2 separate regions of the Homo sapiens genome follow, and region 1 is linked to region 2. The links are contacts of gene promoters, found by promoter capture Hi-C in human tissues and cell types (Jung and others, 2019). All regions are on one chromosome and are shown on one strand. The core of a region is centred on a gene start or on the middle of the fragment in contact, and the rest is flanking DNA. Distances in the headings are between cores, read along the strand shown.

What was found. Contacts are between HindIII fragments. The study calls those that stand out against the background at their distance.
Region 1: a fragment that was not itself captured here is called in contact with the fragment with the promoter of KIAA0408 in region 2 in 7 of the 25 tissues and cell types used here (H1 embryonic stem cells, adrenal gland, bladder and 4 more).

Annotation. Positions count from the first base shown.
Region 1 is chr6:127,412,342-127,417,867 of GRCh38, reverse strand. It overlaps the pseudogene LOC100287856. Among named protein-coding and RNA genes, the nearest start is that of KIAA0408, 44 kb to the left of the region's middle. RefSeq lists an enhancer at 4,040-4,844. The HindIII fragment of the contact is 3,360 bases long and covers 1-3,082 here.
Region 2 is chr6:127,456,349-127,461,336 of GRCh38, reverse strand. KIAA0408 reads left to right here and starts at 1,948. Exons shown (of 6, transcript NM_014702.5): 1 at 1,948-2,162. The region is part of intron 7 of SOGA3-KIAA0408 (SOGA3-KIAA0408 readthrough); the gene reads left to right. The HindIII fragment of the contact is 15,174 bases long and covers 1-4,988 here.

The sequences.
Region 1 (5,526 bases), core at 153-2,652, 43 kb after region 2:
TCTGGATTAGCATTTTTGTATATTTTCTTACATTTTATGTATTATGTTGGTTTTTTTAGCTTTTAACATACAACATATACAAAATTTTATGTCTCACTTTTTTTCTTAACATTACCCCATGTTATTAGTTTAATATCACTTTAATGGCAGTATTTTAATGATTGTGCTATATTTCATGTTATATGATAGATGACATCTTGGTAAATAACATATTTTCTTTTTCTTTTTTTTTTTTTTTTTTTTGAGACAGAGTCTCACTCTGTCACCCAGGCTTGGAGTGCAATGGCACGGTCTCGGCTCACTGCATCCTCCACCTCCCCGGTTCAAGCGATTCTCCTGCCTCAGCCTCCCGAGTAGCTGGGACTACAGGCGCATCCCACCACACCCGGCTAATTTTTGGGTTTTTTTGCTTTTTTTTTTTGAGACGGAGTCTTGCTCTGTTGCCCAGGCTGGAATGCAACAGCGCGATCTCCGCTCACTGCAAGCTCCGCCCTGCAGGGTTCATGCCATTCTCCTGCCTCAGCCTCCCGAGTAGTTGGGACTACAGGCACCTGCCACCACACCCGGCTAATTTTTTTTTGTATTTTTAGTAGAGACGGGGTTTCACAGTGTTCGCCAGGATGGTCTCGATCTCCTGACCTCCTGATCCGCCTGCCTCAGCCTCCCAGAGTGCTGGGATTACAGGCGGGAGCCATCGCGCCCAGCCAGTTTTTGTATTTTTAGTAGAGACGGGGTTTCATCATGCTGGTCAGGCTGGTCTTGAATTCCTGACCTCGTGGTTCGCCCACCTCAGCCTCCCAAAGTGCTGGGATTACAGGCGTGAGCCACAATGCCCAGCCTTTTCTACTGTTTTCTTTTGAAACATTATCAGGAATAGGATGTGTGAGTAAATAAACATTTTAAAGCTTTTGATAGGTAGAGGAAGAGGACATGGTCTTTGTCTTCTTTCTCCTCAGTTGCAGACTCATTTTTCTCTCAGTCTTCATAATTACATTGTCTGATTTAGAGTGTGATTACATTAATGCTAGATCATGTTGCTCAAAATTAAACAAGTGGGTAATTTCCAAGATTGATTGGCCATACTATTGTCACTGTATTATGCGCATTTTGTTGCATTGGTTCATATTCCTTCTCAACTTACCTCTTGCCACTTGGAATATATATTGATTCATTATGGTGCCAAGCAGTAACATAGGAGTGTTTGATCCAACAGAAATACACAATCAAGGATAGCAAAAGTAACACATGAAAGACCATAATCAAGCTTAATTTCCACTTGCTCTGTTTTTTCACGTATCTTTAAACTATGGTTTTAGCTTCGATAAATGACTGAAGCTGGAGAAGCCATGGTTGAAATCAACCTACACTTCAGTGCACAGTTGAGGAGCCAGAGACTAAAATCATCTACAGAACCACAACAATGGCAGTATATCTTTTCTTCTTTGAACAAAAATCTATTTTTGCTGTCTTTTTACCGTATAAAGTTTTTTTGTTTTGCTTTGGTTTTTTTGTTTGTTTTGTTCATTGGTTGGTTATTTATTTATTTATTTATTTATTTTGAGACAGAGTTTCGCTTTTGTTTCCCAGGCTGGAGTGCAATGATGCGATCTCAGCCCACCGCAACCTCTGCCTCCTGGGTTCAAGCAATTATACTGCCTCAGCCTCCTGAGTAGCTGGGATTACAGGCGTGTGCCACCATGCCCAGCTAATTTTTGTATTTTTAGTATATAGGGGGTTTCTCCATGTTGGTCAGGCTTGTCTCGAACTCCCAACCTTAAGGGATCCACCCGCCTCGGCCTCCCAAAGTTCTGGGATTACAGGCCTGAGCCACTACGCCCAGCCTAAAGTATTTTTTAAACATGAAAATAATAAAGATTTTGATAGATGTTGCTGAATTGCTAAACCTTATTTAAATAACTGTATGTTTTATCCAATAGTTTTTCTCCTCCTTGTTAATCAAGCAATTGTAGAGTTTTAAAGTAACTTTAACAATTCCTTCTTCTTCCAATTAAATAGCCTAAAACATTCAAAACCAGTAGGCAGCATGAAACAAATATATATCCTTGTTGTTCTTTTTTCTCCCTGTTTAGGAGGAGCCCAACACCCTCTGCCCTCACTGGAAGCACAGTGAGCCATCACTAATAATTCAGTAGCAGATATAAAACGTAAGGGAAGAAAGAATACTGAGTGATTCTCAGGTTGCCTTCAACTCTGCTTTAAAGCCTTGAACATTGGTGATAAATTTTATACTCATATAGAGAAACAATTTCCTCAACCCCATAAGAATAACAGAAAGGTGGCTTTTTAAATAATCTAGTTGACTGTATTACATATTTTTCTTGCTCTACTCCAGACTGTCAGGTTTGCCCTAGATACAGAGTAAAGTAAACCCTGGAGACTACTAACCCAAGTCCCTGAAGCAGCCACTGATGTCCTGTGATCAATGGATACAAAAAAATAAATAAATAAAACAGGTCCCTAAAACAAAGTATCCTTTCTCTTTTTCCACTCCATCCTCAGCTTTTTCACTTTTGTAGCTGTTTAAAAGATCTGAGTAAAGCCACTGTGTTTTGATACACACCCAGCCTCTGGTAGGTTAAATTACAAGTTGGTCTGCGGTCAGAGAGACTCAAAGCTGTGTCCTAACTTTCAAAGATGAAAGTGCATACGAGCTGGCATTTGATCCAATTCAGTATTGATTTTACAGCAGACAGATGAAAAAGAGAACTGTACATTTTTTTAAATTAATATACAGAATATATAGCTCTTGTAACAATGGTTATGTTTTAAATTACCTAAAATCTGTAATTAACAACAACAAAAATAATTAAGCCCTATCTTCACATATTACTAACCAATGAATAAGATGTCAAATATGAAATAATCTGAAAGCATTTCATCACTGTTTCAAATCTAGTTCATCAATTGACAAATATTTTTGTTCATATAGAATAGAAAGGACACTTGGCCAAGCATACTGGGGAAACAAATTATAAGAAGTATACAGCACTCTCAAAAACTTTAGAATAATGGATGGAGAAATAAGGTAATATAAATAATACATGGTATTGAACAGGAATTATAATGATACACCTAATATTTCCATAACTTTCTAGAGTTTACAAAGTTTAACATTCACATCAGCTCTGCAAATTTGGCATTCTTGTCACAATTCAATGGATGACTAAATTGGTATTTAAGAAAACTGCACAAGCCAGTTGTGGTGGCTCATACCTGTAATCCCAGAACTTTGGAAGGCCAAGGTGGGCAGATCACCTGAGGTAAGGAGTTCAAGACAAGCCTGGCCAACATGGTGAAACCCTGTCTCTACAAAAATACAAAAATTAGCCAGGCATGATGGCAGGTGCCTGTAATCCCAGCTACTCAGGAGGCTGAGGCAGAAGAATCACTTGAACCTGGGAGGCAGAGGTTGCAGTGAGCCGAGATCATGCCATTGCGCTCCAGCCTGGGTGACAGAGCGAGACTCTGTCTCAAAAGAAAAAAAAAAAACTGCACTTGCTCAAGATTTCACTCCTTCACTTCTGATCTTCTAGACATTTAATTTTTTGGAATTTGATCTTGGTATCAAATTCATTATTTTGAATGTTCCAAGAAATTAAATGTCTAGAAGATCAGAATTGAAGCATGACTATACCAAGGGAGCATTCCTGACAGATGCTGGATTTGTCTCGGCCTAGGGGCATAGATCATGCCAAGTGCAGAAGTTTGTTGGCAAAGGCATGGCAGTGGGAATTCCTGAGGCCTCTCTTGAAATCTGGAAGACAGTGAGTGGACCATCTTGCCTGGAGGGGAGGCTTCCAATGAGGCTGGGATAGTAAATATAAAGTTATATACTTTATTCAGTACCCCAGTGGGTACCTAATGAAATTTGGAAAAAGGGAATGATATTATGTCTTTGAAGAAAATGACAGTAGGTTTCAACAGGTAGATGAGTCAGAAGTGTTCTTCATATTTTTAAATAATTTATGCCTGGGAACCTAGGACTGCCTCACCATGAGACCATAAATGTTCAGACCACTAATCTTGGCAAGATTGTTATAGGTATCTTCAGCTGTCAAAATTCACTCATGGATGCTCAGTAGCTAAAAGATATACACTTATGGAGGAGGGGCGTTCCAAGATGGCCGAATAGGAACAGCTCTGGTCTGCAGCTCCCAGCGTGATCAACACAGAAGATGGGTGATTTCTGCATTTCCAACTGAGGTAGCTGGTTCATCTAATTGGGACTGGTTGGACAGTGGGTGCAGCCCACGGAGGATGAGCTGAAGCAGGGCAGGGCATTCCCTCACCCGGGAAGCACAAGGGGTTTGGGGATTTCCCTTTCCTAGCCAAGGGAAGCCGTGACAGACTACCTGGAAAAACGGGACATTCCCACACAAATACTGTGCTTTTCCCAAGGTCTTAGCAACCAGCAGACAAGGTGATTCTCTAACATGCCTGGCTTGGCAGCTCCCACACCCACAGAACCTTGCTCACTGCTAGTGCAGCAGTCTGAGATCAATCTGCAGGATGGCAGCCTGACTGGGGGAGGGGCATCTGCCATTGCTGAGGCTTGAGTAGGTAAACAAAGTGGCCGGGAAGCTGGAACTGGGCGGAGCCCACCACAGCTCAACAAGGCCTATTGCCTCTAGACTCCCTCCACCTCTGAGGGCAGGGCACAGCTGAACTAAAGGCAGCAGACAACTTCTGCAGACTTAAATGTCCCTGTCTGACAGCTCTGAAGAGAGCAGTGGTTCTCCCAGCACAGTGTTTGAGCTCTGAGAACGAACAGACTGCCTCCTCAAGTGGGTCCCTGACCCCCATGTAGCCTAAATGGGAGACACCTCCCAGTAGGGGCCAACAGACACCTCATATAGGTGGCTGCCCATCTTGGACGAAGCTTCCAGAGGAAGGAGCTGGCAGCAATATTTGCTGTTCTGCAGCCTCCGCTGGTGATATCCAGGCAAACAGCATCTGGAGTGGAACTCCAGCAAACTCCAACAGAACTGCAGCTGAGGGACCTGACTGTTAGAAGGAAAACTGGCCAGGCGCAGTGGCTCAGGCCTGGCATGGTGGCTCATGCCTGTAATCCCAGAACTTTCGGAGGCCAAGGCAGGCAGATCACGAGGTCAGGAGATTAAGACCATCCTGACTAACACAGTGAAACCCTGTCTCTACTAAAAATACAAAACATTAGTCAGGTGTGGTGGCAGGTGCTTGTAGTCCCAGCTACTAGAGAGGCCGAGGCAGGAGAATGGCGTGAACCTGGGAGGCGGAGCTTGCAGCGAGCCGAGATCGCGCCAGGGCACTCCAGCCTGGGTGACAGAGCGAGACTCCAACTAAAAAAAAAAAAAAGAAGGAAAACTAACAAACAGAAAGGAATAGCATCAACCTCAACAAAAAGGTCACCTACACAAAAACCCCATCTGTAGGTCACCAACATACCAACATCAAAGACCAAAGGTAGATAATACCACAAAGATGGGGAGAAACCAGAGCACAAAAGCTGAAAATTCTAAAACTCAG
Region 2 (4,988 bases), core at 699-3,198:
TTTTTTGTTTTGTTTCTCTGAGACAGAGTCTTGCTCTGTCAACCAGGCTGGAGTGCAGGAATGCCATCTCTGCTTACTACAACCTCTGCCTCCCGGGTTCAAGCAATTCTCCTGCCTCAGCCTCCCTAGTAGCTGGGATTACAGGCCTGAGCCACCACAGCCGGCTAATTTTTTTATTTTTAGTAGACACAGGGTTTCACCATGTTGGCCAGGCTTGTCTCGAACTCCTGACCCCATGTGATCCACCTGCCTCCGCCTCCAGAAGTGCTGGGATTACAGGTGTGAGCAACCACACCCGGCCAGAAACAATGTTAAGACAATTCTGTATTGATGTTTTTGTGCAACTCCCTCCTCCCTTTCCCTCTCTCAAAGAATCTTCTTCCTAGCCTCATAAGCATGGAGGCAGACATGAGCTACCCTTTATTGTGTGCTTGGCGCTATATATATTCCCTCATATTCTTATGGCCTCTTAAAGTAAATATAATTATGTCTTTAAGGAAGAATCAGGGTCTGCAAGATCACACAGATAAGTGGTGGCAGCAGAATTGAAACTTAGATCTCTATGACAAAATTCCATGGTTTGCAATCAGACAAAACAGTTCAAACCCGTTTCCTCCACATGGGTGCATTTCTATGAACTTTTGCATGATGCTTTACCACAATGAGCCTTGCTTGGGTTTTATCAGTAAGATCAGATTATCAGTATCTAGAGACAGAATTGCTCTGAGGGTGAACTCAGATAAAGGTCTGTTCAAAGTACTTAGCACAGAACCTTGCAGAGGGTTGCCCCTCAGTGAATAATCACTATTATTACTATAACTATCACTGTTATTGTTGTTATTGCTGTTGAGATTATGATGTCAGGCTTTCCAGACACAGAGTATGGTTTCATTTGATTGTCCTACATGTATTAAAGTCCTACTGTGAGCAGGTTACTATTACTAAACTTTAGCTCCTCATGAAATGTTTATCTGGAAGCAGGTGAAAATAATGTGAGTGAATATGTATTACTTTAAAGACCACACCAGGGAAGCTCTTCAGACTTGAAGATAAGACCTTATTGTTTAAACTTGTGTATTTGCTAAGTTAGGCAAAAAATTGCTCTAGAGACTTTTTTGACTAAATTAAACCAAATATCATCAGATGCATGTGTGTACAAAGCCACAATAAACCTGAAAATGTCGCTGGGGAGGCAAGATCTCCTAGCATTTCAGAACAGGCTGATTTGATCATGATTTAGAGAGCTTTTCCATACACTTAGGCTGCTTTCTCTTCCTATGGCTGCAGCACACTTTAGTGGAAAATAAGCCCATAGGTATCTCATTTTTGGGGTGTGTGTGTGTGTGTGTTTTGTCCTCCCACAATAAGAAATCTCATCCTTTCCCATGGGCTCTGATTTTCTCTAACGTAAAGACATCGCTACTACTGTAGATAAAAGCAACACACTGTCAGAATCACAGAGAGCTAAGAGGTTGGACTTTATGTTCCATTTCTATTTTATTTGAAGATAGAAGTTTGATAACTTTCACAGATCTTTTGAGAGTGCATAATATATATAATTATGCTACACATATTGTTCTGCCACATCCAGATGCAAACTTCTAAAGGTGCAGCAGAGTACATCCTGCCACCAGCTGAGAAGGAGAAAGAATTATGGAAGGAGGGAGATAATTCTTGCCTATAAAAAAATGAGTTTACTTTCCTAATAAAATAAATCTAAAATTGGCCATTGTCATTGTATGATGTTAACAACCAGCTCTTTTGGCAAGTTTGAAAATACTGGGCTCCATTATAAAAGCTAAAAATGTCCTGGACCTGGAGTTGTTTACCCAGAGCATGAGCTGCTCTAAAGTTACAGAGCTCTGGTTGGAAGAGGTGGCTTGAAGGCCGCCTCCAAGTAACTGACGTCACAGTAGTCTCAGCTGCTGCTGTGACACTAAGCTGAGCAGCTTTTTGACTTGTAAAAGTGGTGAAGGTTTCAAAGGGACTTGTCAGTACTGCTCTGTGGAATGGTTGGACTTATTTTGCATCCCCTTTTCTTGTAAAGAATCGAGATTCACCGAGCTGAGACTTTTCTCTTTAAGACAGCTAGCCATCCACTTTCTTCCACTGCTAATTGACCAGTGGTCGAGCATCCATAGGATTTCTCCCCAGTGTGAAAGGTATGTTTCTTTCCGGCAAGTTTACAAGCAAGTGACTAATTATGGCAGGATACAAAGGGGCTGCTGTTGAGATGTTTTAAACTATGGATACTGTTTAAGTGGAGTGTAATTTCAACATCTGTCTCTGCTGTTGTCTGTGTCTGGGCTTAAAAACAGTGGGCGGGGTGCATAACAGATTGTACTGACTCCTAGGAAAAAGGCTGTTCAGCTGCTCAGGGTGGATTTCCCAACTGTGGACTGACAGTACCATCCGCTCTTTGAGACTGTTTTTCCAACACTGCTTCTCAGTTGTTTGAAAAGCACTTTGCCCATCATTGATTTTCACTAAGTATATTTATTCAAATGTGATTTTTTTTATTCATATAAAGACTTTTAACATTTGCAAATTAAAGGTCACAATCCTGGAGACTTGGTATTTGAAAATTGCGGTGAAAAATAAATTTTAGTTTTATCTAAGGTGGTGGTGGACTCACTGTAGAGTTAGTGTTTCTGTAATTTGAGCTGAAGTCTATGCCATTCATAATTGAATAATCTACGTTTAGGAGGGAAACTTACCACTATGTCTTTTGTTCACGATGGTTAGTTTTAGACATTTGTTTACTCAAACCAAATGTTTGCTTTTAAAGTTTGCATTTTATAAGTAAAATCAGTGTGCATACAGCTTGGATGTTTTCTAATTTGAGTAAATAACTGTAAAGAAAACAAGGAAGAAGATAATTAAATGAAACGGTAAAGTTGATTCATTCGGAATTGCATGTGGTAGTGTCTCTTTGACCTTGTTGGAGCATGAGGAATGTGCTAAATCAGCAATACACAGCAATGAAAAAAATTTCCCTTTTACTCTAACAAAATCAAATCATGGTGGTCTTTGGAAAGATTCAATTGCAAGTGAACAATAGAGAGGAATGAGATTTATTAATTCATTGAAATAATTCAAGTGATTATAATAGCCTGGAGAAAGGGATAGAGAATTTAGGAGGTAAATGGTACATTACTCTGATAGGTTATAAGCTGGGGAATTCCTAATCCATCAAAGTTAAGCAGAAGCAAAACATCTTCAGGCCAAATGAGTCTTCTAGGAATTGTGAGATTAGCAGTACCTACTGTGTGTGGCATTTCTATTGGAATATGTAACCTCTTATAAATGAAAAATCTTTAATTATGTGAAAAGTGATATGTTTAGCAAAAGGAAATAAGGACAGCAAGAAACAAGTACTCTAAACAATAATCTAAAAAGAGAGAAGTAGCAATGGAGCAGCTGCCCCTAAGGAACGCTGTTTAGTTTGTTTGGATGCAGTCCAGTTTTCAATGGGCGAGTTGGAGGTTGAAAGGGTAGTGACCCAGGTGTCCTAAGAATGGAGCACCCCTCAGAGAAAGAATTGCTGCCATGACCAAACTGAGGCTAATTTGGGGGTGAAAATAATTTCTTGTGAGACTTGTGTGTTACTCTTAAACTTTGCTTACTGGTAGGGCCGGAAGGCTAGCAGAACTATTTGCCTCCCATCACCATACTTATGCAACCCACTCACAACTCTTTATAATTCTGGCTTTCAGCCCTGGAAAGGGGAAGTAAGTTAAAAGGGATTATGCAATGCTGGTTTAGAGTTGGGGTGTGTGACTAAGTAATGCAGCTCACTCTGTCCTCTTACATTTGCTCTAATAAATTTTTATTCTGAAATGGAATTCTAGAAGGAAGAACATAAACTGGAGAGCCAAAGAGATATGGGGTAGGGGATGCAGATAGCAGAAATCCTTCCTTCTCTCCCACATAGATGCCAGTATCTGTGGGAGAAAATGAGTGACAACTAGGAACAAAAAGAACTTTTATTTTTGCCCCAGTAGAGAGCACTTAAATTGAGTTTTTGAATCTGCTGAACCACTTTACCCCATAACTTCTCATTACGAAACATTCTATCTCTACAAAGTTGCCCCTTCAGTTTGATATTTTTTGTAATATTTAAGTCAGATTTATAACAAAAGCAGTTTTACATAAGATTTGTTCACATTTTTATTAACAATAAAACTTTTTTCTTTAAATATGTGACATGTATCTTTAAAATATTTGAAAAAAGGCAAAAGAAGATCATGGAGAATATGAGAGTTCACACAATTACACTTGCTTCTATCTCGTTTTAAAATAAAGACCAAAATAATCTGTTTTTTTTCCAGAGAACAACATGGAGAGGGATAGATGGAGAAAGAGAGGAGAAAGGGAAGGAGGGAGGAAAGACAAGAAGAGGAAGGGAGGGAACAAAGGACAGAAGGAAGAAAACAAGAACCAAGTATTTTTCAGGCATTTGCTATGATCCAGAGCAGTGTTTAGGCACTTCTTTTAAGCATTTTTCCCTTTTGCTCACTTAATCTCCAAAACAATTCTATGCCCCCCCCCCACCACTTTATATTTAGAGGTGGAAGCAATATGTTTGGCTGCGTTACATCTAACATTATATTTACGACAAGACTGAGATGCTAAGAAGGCCAAATCCTTCCACAAAAAATTGGCACAGATATTGCTCTATAGAAATGTTCTTGCAAAGGCTTGTTTCTGATCCATAACTATTACATTTCTTGGCACTAGCAATTGCTCTGGGCCTGGAAAGGAAAAGCTCCATACATTGGTCCTTCTCCATATTAAGGGATGAGTTTGGCTCTTTGCAAATAGGTGCAGGATTCGGTCTGCTTCAGGACTGTTACCTGGGTTTAGATATAGTCTTGTTATCAAGAGCAAGACTGATCTAGGGTATTCCTGAATGATCTTCCGGTAGGTTAAAAAGAGAAAGGCCTGGCATCTTTCAACAGTAGCATGGAAGCGATTCAAGAAGAGTT